Regions from separate parts of the Homo sapiens genome. Here regions 1, 2 and 3 are each linked to region 4. The links are contacts of gene promoters, found by promoter capture Hi-C in human tissues and cell types (Jung and others, 2019). All regions are on one chromosome and are shown on one strand. The core of a region is centred on a gene start or on the middle of the fragment in contact, and the rest is flanking DNA. Distances in the headings are between cores, read along the strand shown. Region 1 has its middle 4.3 kb from the start of OASL. Region 2 overlaps RNF34 (ring finger protein 34). Region 3 has its middle 13 kb from the start of ANAPC5. Region 4 holds the start of P2RX4 (purinergic receptor P2X 4).

Region 1 (3,074 bases), core at 116-2,615, 170 kb after region 4:
CTATATTGCCTTGAAGTTCATTGTCAGTCATCGTAACCATATGGCAAATGTTTGGAGTCTTAACCGGTTGTTGACTTAGCTTTGTGAAATTGTCACTGCTCTTTAAATCCTCATAATATGGTATTGCTGAAGGATCAGGTACTACCAAACACTGGAAATATAAGAACTTTTATAATTTATGTAATTAAAATATGTGATGCTTTCCACTTGGGGTTAGCCAGTTTGAAAAGTTAAATTGGAATGTGTCATGATGGACAAACTCCTTGAAAGAATCATCTGCACTTCTGGTCTCCATGCCCCCGACCCCACCCAGCCTAATCTGGCTTCAGCTCCCTCCTCTCGCCTAAAACTGTGCCCACCTTGATCACCAGTCGTTTTCTTGAGTACTTTTCAGGTCTGTATTTCTTAACTTTTCAGAAGCATTCAGCAATGTGGGTGACTTTTTTTTAACTCTGGTTATGCCCACCTCTTTGGCCACCCCAGCAGGTACCGCCTAAATTTCTCTTCCTCTGCTCATCACTTAAATTTGGGGCTTGGCCAGGCATAGCAGTTCATGCCTGCAATCTCAGCACTTTGGGATGCTGAGGTGGGAGGATTGCTTGAGCCGGGGTTCGAGGCTGCAGTGAGCTATGATTGCACCACTGCTCTCCAGCCTGGGAGATGGAACGAGACTCTGTCTCTACATTAGTTCATTTTGGTGTGATTCATTCTTCCCCAAGGTACCAGTGACCACGTGTATACTGAGGGAAATCAAATATGTCTTTACATGGAGCAGGTCACTCGCTTCTCATCCTTGGGTACTACCAAATCATTATCCAAAATGCACCCCTCGAACTCCCCACAGCCATACCCACTCCTCCTTCTCTCCTTGGGAATGGTGGCTCCAACAGTTACTCAAGGACACAAGCCAGAGAGCTGGGAGTCATCCCTGTCTTCTCCTTGCCCCTCACCTATAGTCAACAAGAAGCCCTGCCCACCCTTCTTCCAAAATAGACCTAGAATCCAACCCCTCTTCTCCACCTGCACTGCTTCCAGCCTTGTCTTGGGCCTCACTGCTTATCACCTGCACCCCTGCGAAGTGTCCTAATGCATTTCCCTGCATCTGCCCTTGCCCTCTGCGGTTCGTCCTCACCATGGAAGCAGCCAGACCAATCTTAACTCCACTACATGCCACTCCCCTAAATTTGCCACTGCCCTCAGGACAAAAAGCAGATTCACCTGGCACTCTTTTAACCCAGTGGATCATTTCCATTTCTTCTTCTTCTTCTTCTCCTTTTTTTTTTTTTTTTTTTTTTGAGACAGGGTCTCACTCTGTCACCCAGGCTGGAGTGCAGTAGCATGATCATGGCTCACTGCAGCCGCGACCTCCCTGGACTGAGGTGATCCTCCTACCTCAGCCTCCTGAGTAGCTGGGACTATGGGCACTCACCATCATACCTGGCTAATTTTTGTATTTTTTTGTAGAGATGGGGTTTTGCCATGTTGCCCAGGCTGATCTTGAATTCCTGGGCTCAAGCGATCCTCCCATCTTGACTTTCAAAGTGCTGGGATTTCAGGTGTGAGCCACCATGCCCATCCCATTTCCTCTTTCTTAAAACAATATCTTCACTTGGCCTTCAAACCATCACTCCTGATTTCTCTTCCACCTCACTAGCTACTTCTTTTCCTTCTTCTTTGCTGGACTCGTGCAACTCCCTAAACTCCGAATAATATTAAGTGCTCTGGGGCTCAGTCCTGGGTCTTTTTCTCTTCCTGCTGTGTCATCACTCCCTTGGTGATCTCATTCAGTGTCATGGCTTTAAACATCCCTATGCCGGTGACCCCCACATTTTATCTCAAGTCCAGACCTCCTCCCTGTAATACAGACTCGCATATCCAACTCCCCACCACATATCTCCACCTGGGTCTCTGACAGACACCCCAAACTTCAGTTCCAAAACTGAGTTCCTTCCTCATCTCCATGCCCAGCCTATCCCACCTCAGTTAAGGGCAGTTCAACCTTTCTGTTGCTAAGGCCAAAAGCCCCGGACTTAGACCTTGACTCTGATCTTTCTCTCTCATCATACTCTACCCATTAGCAAGACCTGTCAGCCTTGGAGTCAAAATATATCCAGCGGAATGACATGATGTCCAGATTCACTTCCAAATAACACAGTAGGGAATCTAGGGATGGGGGTAGAATTGAAACCAGACTGTCTATAAGTTGATCATTGTTGAAACTGGTGATGGTACATGGAGGTTCATTGTATTATTCCACTTTGTTTGAAATGTTCCAAAATCAGAAAAATTAAAACATACTATTTCACTGCTACCACTCTGATCCAAGTCAACTGACCTCTTGCCTGGACTGTTGCAGTAGCCTCCTAACCATACTTCTGCCTCCACTTTCACCTCCACTCCACCCTCTGCTTCTAATTTAATTTCCTCCCAGCAGCCAATGTGATTAATTCCATTAAAATGAAAGACCGTGTCACTCCTCCACTCAAAACTCTCCAATGTATGGTGTCAGACTCCTACAGAACAACAAAAAATGCTCCCCAGTGGTTCCCCATTTCATTCAGAGTAAAGCCAACTCCTAACAGTCGTCTTCAAGATCCTATCCACTCCTGCTCCTTGTTTATGGAATAAATCTTTTTAAAAAGATCTTATATCCTGGCTGGGTGCGGTGGCTCACGCCTGTAATCCCAGCACTTTGGGAGGCCGAGGCGGGTGGATCGCCTGAGGTCAGGAGTTAGAGACCAGCCTGGCCAACATGGTGAAACACCGTCTCTACTAAAAGTACAAAAATCAGCTAGGTGTGGCGGTGGGCACCTTGAATCCCAGCTGCTCAGGAGGCTGAGGCAGGAGAATCGCTTGAACCTGGGAGGTGGAGGTTGCAGTGAGCCGAGATTGTGCCATTGCACTCTAGCCTGGGCAACAATTGTGAAACTCCATCTCAAAAAAAAAAAAAAAAAGGATCCTGTATCTATTTGCCTTGCCACCCTTTACTACTTAAACCGCATTCCCTTCCACTCTCTGCTCTTGATCACTCCGTTCCAGGCACACTGATGTTCCTTATACTTGCCACCGGGCAG
Region 2 (2,801 bases), core at 295-2,794, 200 kb before region 4:
CAGGCAAAAATGTTGCTATAACCCAATATTCAGTACAACTCAGACACATATTAACTACTGTCAGCCAAATACTACAGGAATAGAAGGTAAAGAAGCAATCCTGAAAAATTTAGGTTGCAGCCTCATTAGAATCTCTGAACTTAAATTTGGGCAAAATCTTCCAATGAGAACATGATCTCCCAGTGAGAGAATAACCTTAGCATCATATTGAAGGGCAAATCCACTTATAGTTATCATCTCTGAGAGGAGCATTTGCAACACTCCAGCCTTCTGGAAAGTTCAGAAATTTGAAGCAGGGGAAGCCCCTGTCACTAGTATATTTGAAGTATTTTTTTTTTTCCCATCCAGCATTTTTTTTTTTTTGGTGGTTTTGAGACAGAATCTTGCTCTGTTGCCCAGGATGGAATGCAGTGGCGCAATCTCGGCTCACTGCAACCTCTGCCTCCCGGGTTCAAGCAATTCTCCTGCTTCAGCCTCCCAAGTAGCCGGGATTACAGGCACCCACCACCACACCCGGCTAATTTTTGTATTTTTAGTAGAGACGGGGTTTCACCATGTTGTCCAGGCTGGTCTCGAACTCCTGACCTCGTAATCCGCCTGCCTCAGCCTCCCAAAGAGCTGGGATTACAGGCATGAGCCACCACGCCAGCCCCATGCAGCATATTTGAAAATTTTAATTTCCATCTCCCCTTTAAGCCCCATATTTCCTGGCATCCCAGTGCTGAAATGAACATAATTCCTTTTCTTTTTTTTTGAGACGGAGTTTCGCTCTTGTTGCCCAGGTTGGAGTGCGATGGCACGATCTTGGCTCACCGCAACCTCTACCTCCCAGGTTCAACCGATTCTGCTGCCTCAGCCTCCTAGTAGCTGGGATTACAGGCATCTGCCACCATGCCCGGCTAATTTTGTATTTTTAGTAGAGGCAGGGTTTCTCCATGTTGGTCAGGCTGGTCTCGAACTCCTGACCTCAGATGATCCGCCCGCCTCGGCTTCCCAAAGTGCTGGGATTACAGGTATGAGCCACCACGCCTGGCCATGAACATAATTTCTTTACATTCATTTTAGCACTGAAGTGCCAGGTAACACCCACCCCCGCTGCCCTTCAGTGAAACAGGTGTTTTAGTCCTGTACCTTCGTAGCTGCTGTCAGTACTTCTTGCTAAGGAATTGCCTAGGGTTGTGAAACTGCCCTTAAGAGAATGGTTTTCAGCCTTGGCTGCATGTTGGACTCACCAGGCAAGTCTTTAAAAATACTGATTCCTGGGGTCCCAGGCCCAGAGGTTCTGATTTCACTGGTCTGTGGTGCAGCCTGGGCACCAGAATTTTTTTGAAAACTCCCTGGGTAATTCTGATATACAGGCCAGGTTAAAAGCTTAAGACCTGCTCAGTCAAAGGGAAGATGTCTTCTTCCTGCCTACACTGTTTCAGCTGGGACATCACCCTCCACAAATTCCTGAGTGGAAAGGGCTGTGGTTACTTTGGAAGCCTGTGGCCCTAGAGTTCTGGAACTAATGCCTCGGCAACATACTCCCCAAGACCTGTCTACATGTTTTTCTGTTGTGGGATATGTAGTATTTTGCATCCCACTTTGGTTTTACCCAATCCTTTAAGAAAGGGTCAGCTAAGTTTTGGCCAAGTGTTGTGGTCCATGCCTATAATCCCAGCAGTTTGGGAGGCCGAGGCCAGCAGGTCACCTGAGGACAGGAGTTTGAGACCAGCCTGGCCAACATGGTAAAACCCCGTCTCTACTAAAAATACAAAAATTAGCCGGGCATGGTGGTGCACGCCTGTGGTCCAAGCTACTCGAGAGGCTGAGGCAGGAGAATCGTTTGAACCTGGGAGGTGGAGGTTGCAGTGAGCAGATATCACGCCACTGTACCACTGCACTCCAGCCTGGGTGACCGAGCAAGACTCCATCTCAAAAAAAAAAAGAAAGGGTCACCTGAGTTTTTAACAATCTGATTCTTCAATGAATCCCTTTCCTTTTTACCACAGATTGGCCTGTAACTTTTGCTGGACTTTGGTGCTCTCCTTGATTTTATTTGCTCTTTGCCTTTGGGCCCCAACTTTTATTTCCCACCTTAACTCCTCTGCACGTTTTCTTGTGTGAAATCTCCCAATATGAGGAGAAAGTCAGTGATTTCTGGGTCTATCAAAAGCAGCCATTGTTCAAAGTGTTTTTGTCCTTCTTCACCTCCAGGATGAAGAATCCATCCAGAAGATAAATCCTTCCAAGCCTGGACTCCATCTACCTGGCTCTCCTTTAGTATGTTTCATCTTCCTGTACTTTCTCATAAATTTCAGAAATTTATTCTGCATGCCTCCTCAGGGCAAAGGCATCTCTACCTACAACTGTCACCTTGACACTCACCTAACAGTGCTTGAAGTGTCCTATACTGATCTTTCCCCTCTTAAATCTGTACACATTTTCTAGTTTTTATTTATTTTTATTTTTATTTTTATTTTTTAGACAGAGTTTCACTCTTGTTACCCAGGCTGGAGTGCGGTGGTATGATCTTGGCTCACTGCAACCTCTGCCTCTTGAGTTCAAGTGATTCTTGTGCCTCAGCCTCCCAAGTAGCTGGGATTACAAGTGCCTGCCATCACACCCTGGTAATTTTTTGTATTTTTAGTAGAGACGGGGTTTCACCATGTTGGCCAGGCTGGTCTCGAACTCCTGACCTCAGGTGATCTGCCTGCCTCAGCCTCCCAAAGTGTTGGGATTACAGGCGTGAGCCACCACACCTGGCCATTTATTTTTATTTTTTTAGAGACGGGGTCTTGATATGCTGCCCAGGCTGA
Region 3 (2,738 bases), core at 33-2,532, 150 kb before region 4:
AGTCCTAGTTACTCAGGAGGCTTTGGATGAAACAAGTGGTCCAGAGACAACAATGAGAATTCCTTTCCCCAGGGAGGGAGGTCAATTCAGTTCGTGAGCCTTGAGAAGCTGAAATGCTACCTTGGATCTGGAAATACTTAGTGATGCTTATCAGGCTAGCGATCGAGTTTCCCCAGCAGCTCAGTTAATTACCCAGAACTTTCTGTATTGAGTGAGTCCTAAGACTCTGCGTGACTTTCTCAAAGTCAGGCCTCATTTTATTCAATAGGAGACATTTTTCCCCCTTTCAGCTGGATTTTCTTGGATTATCAAAAGAGAGTGTTTATGCATGCACACAGGAGAACCGGTTCACACATTACATTTTCCTTGCCCAGAGGAATCAGAGCAATTATCCATTCCCTCTAACATCATGTCTCAGAATTGTAGGGTTAGGGTTTGTCATTTTCAGAAGTTTTAGATCTGAGCAGCAGCAGGTCCAGCATGCGTGCGGTGACACTGCTGGCTTTCCCATCCGGGGTGGATGCTGGGAATGATGTGTCAGCACTTAGCTGCTGGTGAACTTCTGTCTAATGAACAATGGAGAAAATTGGCTCTAGCTGGCACAATTCTACTCGGGGTGTACAGTGTTCAGAGATACATGAAATCAGGAATATAATCATCCATTACTCAGAATAACTTTAAAATCTTTGATAATTATTTAGTTCTTTCAAAATCATCACATTGCTGAACATGATTCATGGTTAAATAGCAAGCTGGGTTTCTCATGCTCATTGAAATGTAGAGTCATTGCTGGTGGATGTAAAATGGTGCAGCCACTTTGGAAAACAGTCTGGCAGTTCCTCAAGAAGTTAAATGTAGAGTTAGCATACAACCCAGAAATTCCACTCCTAGGTATGTAACCCAAAGAACTGAAAACCTATGTTCATCCAAAAACATATATGTGAATGTTCATACCATCACTATTCACAATAGCCAAAAGGTGGGAAACAGCCCAAGTGTCCATGAACTGTTGAGTGGATAAACAAAACGTGGTCTATCCATACAATGGAATATTAGGCATAAAAAGGGATAAAGTCCTGATCCATGCTACGGTGTGGATGAACCTCAGAAACATGAAGCTAAATGAAAAGAAGCCAGACACAAAAGACCACATACTGTATAAATCCATCAGAATGGAATTTCCAGAATAGGTCCATCTACAGAGACAGAAAGTAGGTTCGTGCTTGCCAGGAGTTGGGGGAGGGAGAATAGGGAGTGACTGCTACTGGGTATGGCGTTTCTTTTTAGGGAGATGGAAATGTTCTGGAATTAGATAGTGGTGGTCACAGGCTTCTTTTCCTGGCTCCTGAGTCACCCTGATGGGTTGAACTAATAGGATACCCCACAGGGAGATTGGAGGACAAGGGAAAAGGAGAAGCTTCAGAATTTCTTGCCCTTTCTCTCTGCCTCAGGCAACATCCTCCAACAGTGGCTGTATTTTACTTGGCATCACCAACTCCTTCTCAGTGGCTCTAGCTGCTCACCACTTCCTTTGTCCATTTCGACTTGGGAGTGGCACGATCTTGTTACTCATTCTCTCTCTCTCTTTCTTCTTCTTCGTCTTCATCTTCTTCTTCTTCTTTTTCTTCATCTTCGTCTTCCTCTTCCTCTTTTTCTTCTTCCTCTCTGTCTCTCTCTCTCCCTCTCTGTCTCTCTCACTCTCCCTCTCTCTCTCTCTGAGACAGGGTCTTGCTCTGTTGCCCAGGCTGGAGTGCAGTGGCAAAATTGTGGCTCACTGCAGCCTTGACCTCCTGGGATCCCGAGATTCTCCCTGCTCAGCCTCCCAAGTATTTGGGAATACAAGTGTGTGTCACCACACCCAGCAATTTTTTTTTTTTTTTTGAGACAGAGTCTTGCTCTGTCACCCAGGCTGGAGTACAGTGGCGGGATCTCCAGCTTACTGCAACCTTTGCCTCCTGGGTTCAAGCACTTCTCCTGTCTCAGCCTCCTGAGTAGCTGGGATTACAGGCGTACGGCAGCATGCCTGGCTAATTTTTGTATTTTTAGTAGACAGGGTTTTGCCATGTTGGTCAGGCCAGTCTCGAACTCCTGACCTCATGTGATCCGCCCGCCTTGGCCTCCCAGAGTGCTGGGATTACAGGCATGAGCCACCATGCCCAGCCCACATCCAGCAATTTTTAAACTTTTTTTGTAGAGACAAGGTCTTGCTATGTTGCCCAGGCTGGTCTTGAACTCCTGGGCTCAAGCAATTCTTCCTCCTTGATCTCCCAAAGTGCTGGAGTTATAGGTGTGAGTCACTGCACCCAGCTTTATTGCTAATCTCTGTCCCATTTGGGTTCTTAGATCTTTCATTACTTGTGGAACCAATTCTCTGTATTCATCTTTTTGTTTGTAGCTTCTGTTTCCTGCCTGCTCTCTGATGGATAAACCCTTCTAAGGGCTCTATCAATTCATATTCCTTCCAGTACTGTGTGAAACTGTCAGTTTCCTCCAAACCTTACTGCATTTTATCATTGTGGGAAATTGTGTCCCCCGCTTCTACCTGCCCAAATTTATATGTTAAAGCCCTAACCCTGAATAACTCAGAAGGTAACCTTATTTGGAAATAGGGCCATTGCAGATGTAGATTAGTTAAAATATGGGATCCTATGAATCAGGGTGGGTCTCTAATTCAATATGACTGGTATCCTTATAAAAGGGTGAAATATGGACTGGACGCGGTGGCTCACGCCTGTAAT
Region 4 (2,986 bases), core at 280-2,779:
ATTTCCAGATGGTTCCAATGTGCAGTTTGGAGACCACTGCACTAGGCAATACGTGTCAGCCCAGCAGCTGTAGACACCAGAACACCCCAGGTAAGCCTTTAAAGTGGCCCCAGGTGGCAAGGTAATTATCATCTTCTCTCTCGCGTTGTATTCAATTGTAACAGGTGCCAGCCCCGCGTGGGGGCTCACGCCTGTAATCCCAGCATTTTGGGAGGCTGAGGTGGGCGGATCACCTGAGGTCAGTTCAGGACCAGCCTGAAACCCCGTCTCTACTAAAAAATACAAAAATTGGCCGGGCGTGGTGGCGGGCACTTGTAATCCCAGCCACTCAGGAGACTGAGACAGGAGAATTGCTTGAACCCGGGAGGCAGAGGTTGCAGTGAGCCGAGATCGTGCCATTGCACTCCAGCCCGGGCGACAAGAGAGAAATTCCGTCTCAAAAAAATAAAAAAATTAAAAAAGTAACAGGTGCCTTCAAGTACAATGGCACATTCAGCGAGGCCTGAGGGCGGTAGGGCATCTCTAGCCTAAGGGGGCAGCATGGGGAATGACTGACTAGGCTAGGGCAGGTACCACAAAAAGCCCCACAAGCCCAGAAAACAAAGGAAGCAAACTTTAAACACTCGCTACAGTCTGACCTCGCTACTACCACATAGTGACACCGCATAGTGATCAAAAGAAATGACCAAAAGCCACCCACCCAGAAGGAACCAAGCGGAAATTCCAAGCTTTGGTTTTGTCAGCAAATCAGCAGGATGGGAAGTGGAGAGCGAAGATTGAGACGTTCAGGGCGAAGCCCCTACAGCCAAGGGGCACTATGGGGGGTCAGGCAGGAGAGGGTAACAGCCTAGCCAGGCTTTGCCTTTATTTATTTTGTAAACAGACGGGTCTCGGACTGTCTCCCAGGCTCGAGTTAAGTGGTGTGATCATAGCTCACTGCAGCCTCAGCCTCTTGGGCTCAAGCGATCCTCCCACCTCAGCCTCCTGAGTAGCTGGGACCCCAGGCGCGCGCCACCAGGCCCGGATGATTTTTAATTTTTTGCAGAGACGGGGTCCCACGATGTTGCCCAAATTGGTTTCGAACTCCTGGGCTCAGGCGATGGTCCCGCCTCGGGCTCCCAAAGTGCTCGGATTACAGGCTTGCGCCACCGCGCCTGGCCCAGGCTGTGGTTTTAAAACAGCAGCAAGCAGCCTCCCGCCCCCGGGGCCCCGGCGCGGCGGCTGGGGCCCAGGGAAGGTGTCACCGCCTCGGCTCGCCGCTCCCGGACTCGCCCAGGTGACCGAGGCCAGGATGAGCCGCCGCACGGCGCGGACGCGAGGGCAGCACCCGCCGCGCCCCCCGCGCGGCCCCACGCTCACCCGATGACGTAGGCCAGGATGAGCAGTTGCACGGCGCGGTTCATGAGCCCCACTTTGCGGCTGCGGATGAGCACGATGCGCGGCGTGTCGTACTCGAACAGGAAGGCCGCCAGCGCGGCGCAGCAGCCCGCCATGGCCGCGCCGCCCGCTCCCAGTCCCCTAGTCGGTCTGGGTCCCAGTCCCCGCTCGGAGCCCCGCCCAGTCCGCCTGGCCTGCTGGCGGCGCCGTCATCGCGGAGGAGGGCCCGGAAGGAGGCAGCACGGGCGGTCGGGGCCCGGGGCCCGGGGGAGGGCGCCACCTCCCCGTCGGGAACGATGACCCTCTAGGGGGCATGGAACTCGCGGGGGGGGAGTGGCCTCGCCCTTGAGGACGAAAGGCTCCTTCAAAAGGCGGGCGAGGGGCCGGGGGCGGTGGCTCACACCTGTCATCCCAGCACTTGCGGAGGCCGAGGTGAGAGGAATCTTGAGTTAGAGACCAGCCTGGACAACATAGCGAGACCTCGTCTCTATCAAAAATACAAAAAAAAAAAAAAAAAAAAAAAAAAAGCGGGCGTAGTGGCGCTCGCCTGTAGTCCCAGGGAGGCTGAGGTGAGAGGATCGCTTGAGCCCAGGAGGTAGAGGCTGCCGTGTGAGCTGTGATCGCGCCACTGCACTCCAGTCTGGGAGATGAAGCGAGACCCTGCCTCAATAAACCAGAAACCAAAAAACAACAAAAAAGGCGAGTTGGGGAGTAATGACCTTCTCAGGAGGGCCAGAGAGAACAAGAGACCCTTTCGGGGAAGATGGGGTCCGCGAAGAGAGAGTGACCTCCCATTTGGGACAGAGTTCAAGTGAGGGGTAACGAGCGACCTCCCTTAGGGGTACTGATAGGTGCCAGGGATTTCCGTAGAGGACCCCGGGGCTGTGCGGAGTAGCCATCGCTCACGAGTGCGGGCTCCTAAACTTGGGCAGCTGTGGTTGGGGGAGCTGGGGCCGCGCTGTCCTTAGCCTCTTGGGGAACAGCCTAAATATCAGGTGTCCTGTGAGCCCTGGGTGAGAGCCACACGCCCTGTAAAATACCCCTCCTGGATTTGAAGCCTGGTCGCATTCTCACTCCAAATACTTCCTTAGTTGCAGCCCAGGGGAGATAATTCTGTGGTCATCCTTTCCACTGAGAAAATGCTATCACAACTTTAGGAGAGAAAATAGTGAAAGGGGGGGAAACAGCCACCGTTCTACCCCATGAATACAATTTTCCGCATGTGTATTTGTTCATTCCCTTCAGATACGTTTTTTCTTTTTCTTTTTCTTTTTTTTTTTGAGACGGAGTTTCACTCTTGTCCAGTCTGGAGTGCAGTGGCGCGATCTCGGCTCACTGTAACCTCCGCCTCCCAGGTTCAAGCAATTCTCCTGCCTCAGCCTCTTGAGTAGCTGGGATTACAAGTGCCCGCCACCACGCCCAGCTAATTTTTGTATTTTTATTAGAGACAGGTTTTCACCATGTTGGCCAGGCTGATCTCCAGCTCCTGACCTCCCATGATCCACCCGCCTCGGGCTCCCAAAGTGTTGGGATTACAGGCGTGAGCCACTGCGCCTGGCCCAGATGTGTTTTCACAGGTGAATGTTATATTTAGTTTCCCAGAAAATAT

Evidence for each region. The method cuts DNA at HindIII sites, captures the fragments that hold promoters and counts their contacts. A contact is called where the count stands out against the background at its distance.
Region 1: a fragment that was not itself captured here is called in contact with the fragment with the promoter of P2RX4 in region 4 in 1 of the 25 tissues and cell types used here (liver).
Region 2: a contact is called between a fragment that was not itself captured here and the fragment with the promoter of P2RX4 in region 4, in 2 of the 25 tissues and cell types used here (dorsolateral prefrontal cortex and lymphoblastoid cells).
Region 3: a fragment that was not itself captured here is called in contact with the fragment with the promoter of P2RX4 in region 4 in 1 of the 25 tissues and cell types used here (mesenchymal stem cells).

What each region holds. Positions count from the first base shown.
Region 1 is chr12:121,041,990-121,045,063 of GRCh38, reverse strand. No RefSeq gene overlaps it. Among named protein-coding and RNA genes, the nearest start is that of OASL, 4.3 kb to the right of the region's middle. The HindIII fragment of the contact is 8,761 bases long and covers 1-3,074 here.
Region 2 is chr12:121,408,108-121,410,908 of GRCh38, reverse strand. All of the region lies in intron 1 of RNF34 (ring finger protein 34), which reads right to left. It also overlaps a transcript of KDM2B not described here. Among named protein-coding and RNA genes, the nearest start is that of RNF34, 9.4 kb to the right of the region's middle. The HindIII fragment of the contact is 7,296 bases long and covers 1-2,801 here.
Region 3 is chr12:121,363,656-121,366,393 of GRCh38, reverse strand. No RefSeq gene overlaps it. Among named protein-coding and RNA genes, the nearest start is that of ANAPC5, 13 kb to the right of the region's middle. The HindIII fragment of the contact is 3,500 bases long and covers 1-2,738 here.
Region 4 is chr12:121,208,672-121,211,657 of GRCh38, reverse strand. It overlaps P2RX4 (purinergic receptor P2X 4), which reads right to left and starts at 1,529. Exons shown (of 12, transcript NM_002560.3): 1 at 1,360-1,529. The coding sequence starts at 1,493. It overlaps LOC105370032 (a long non-coding RNA gene), which reads left to right and starts at 1,586. Exons shown (of 4, transcript XR_001749352.3): 1 at 1,586-1,809. RefSeq lists an enhancer at 704-753 and a silencer at 1,084-1,823. The HindIII fragment of the contact is 10,060 bases long and covers 1-2,986 here.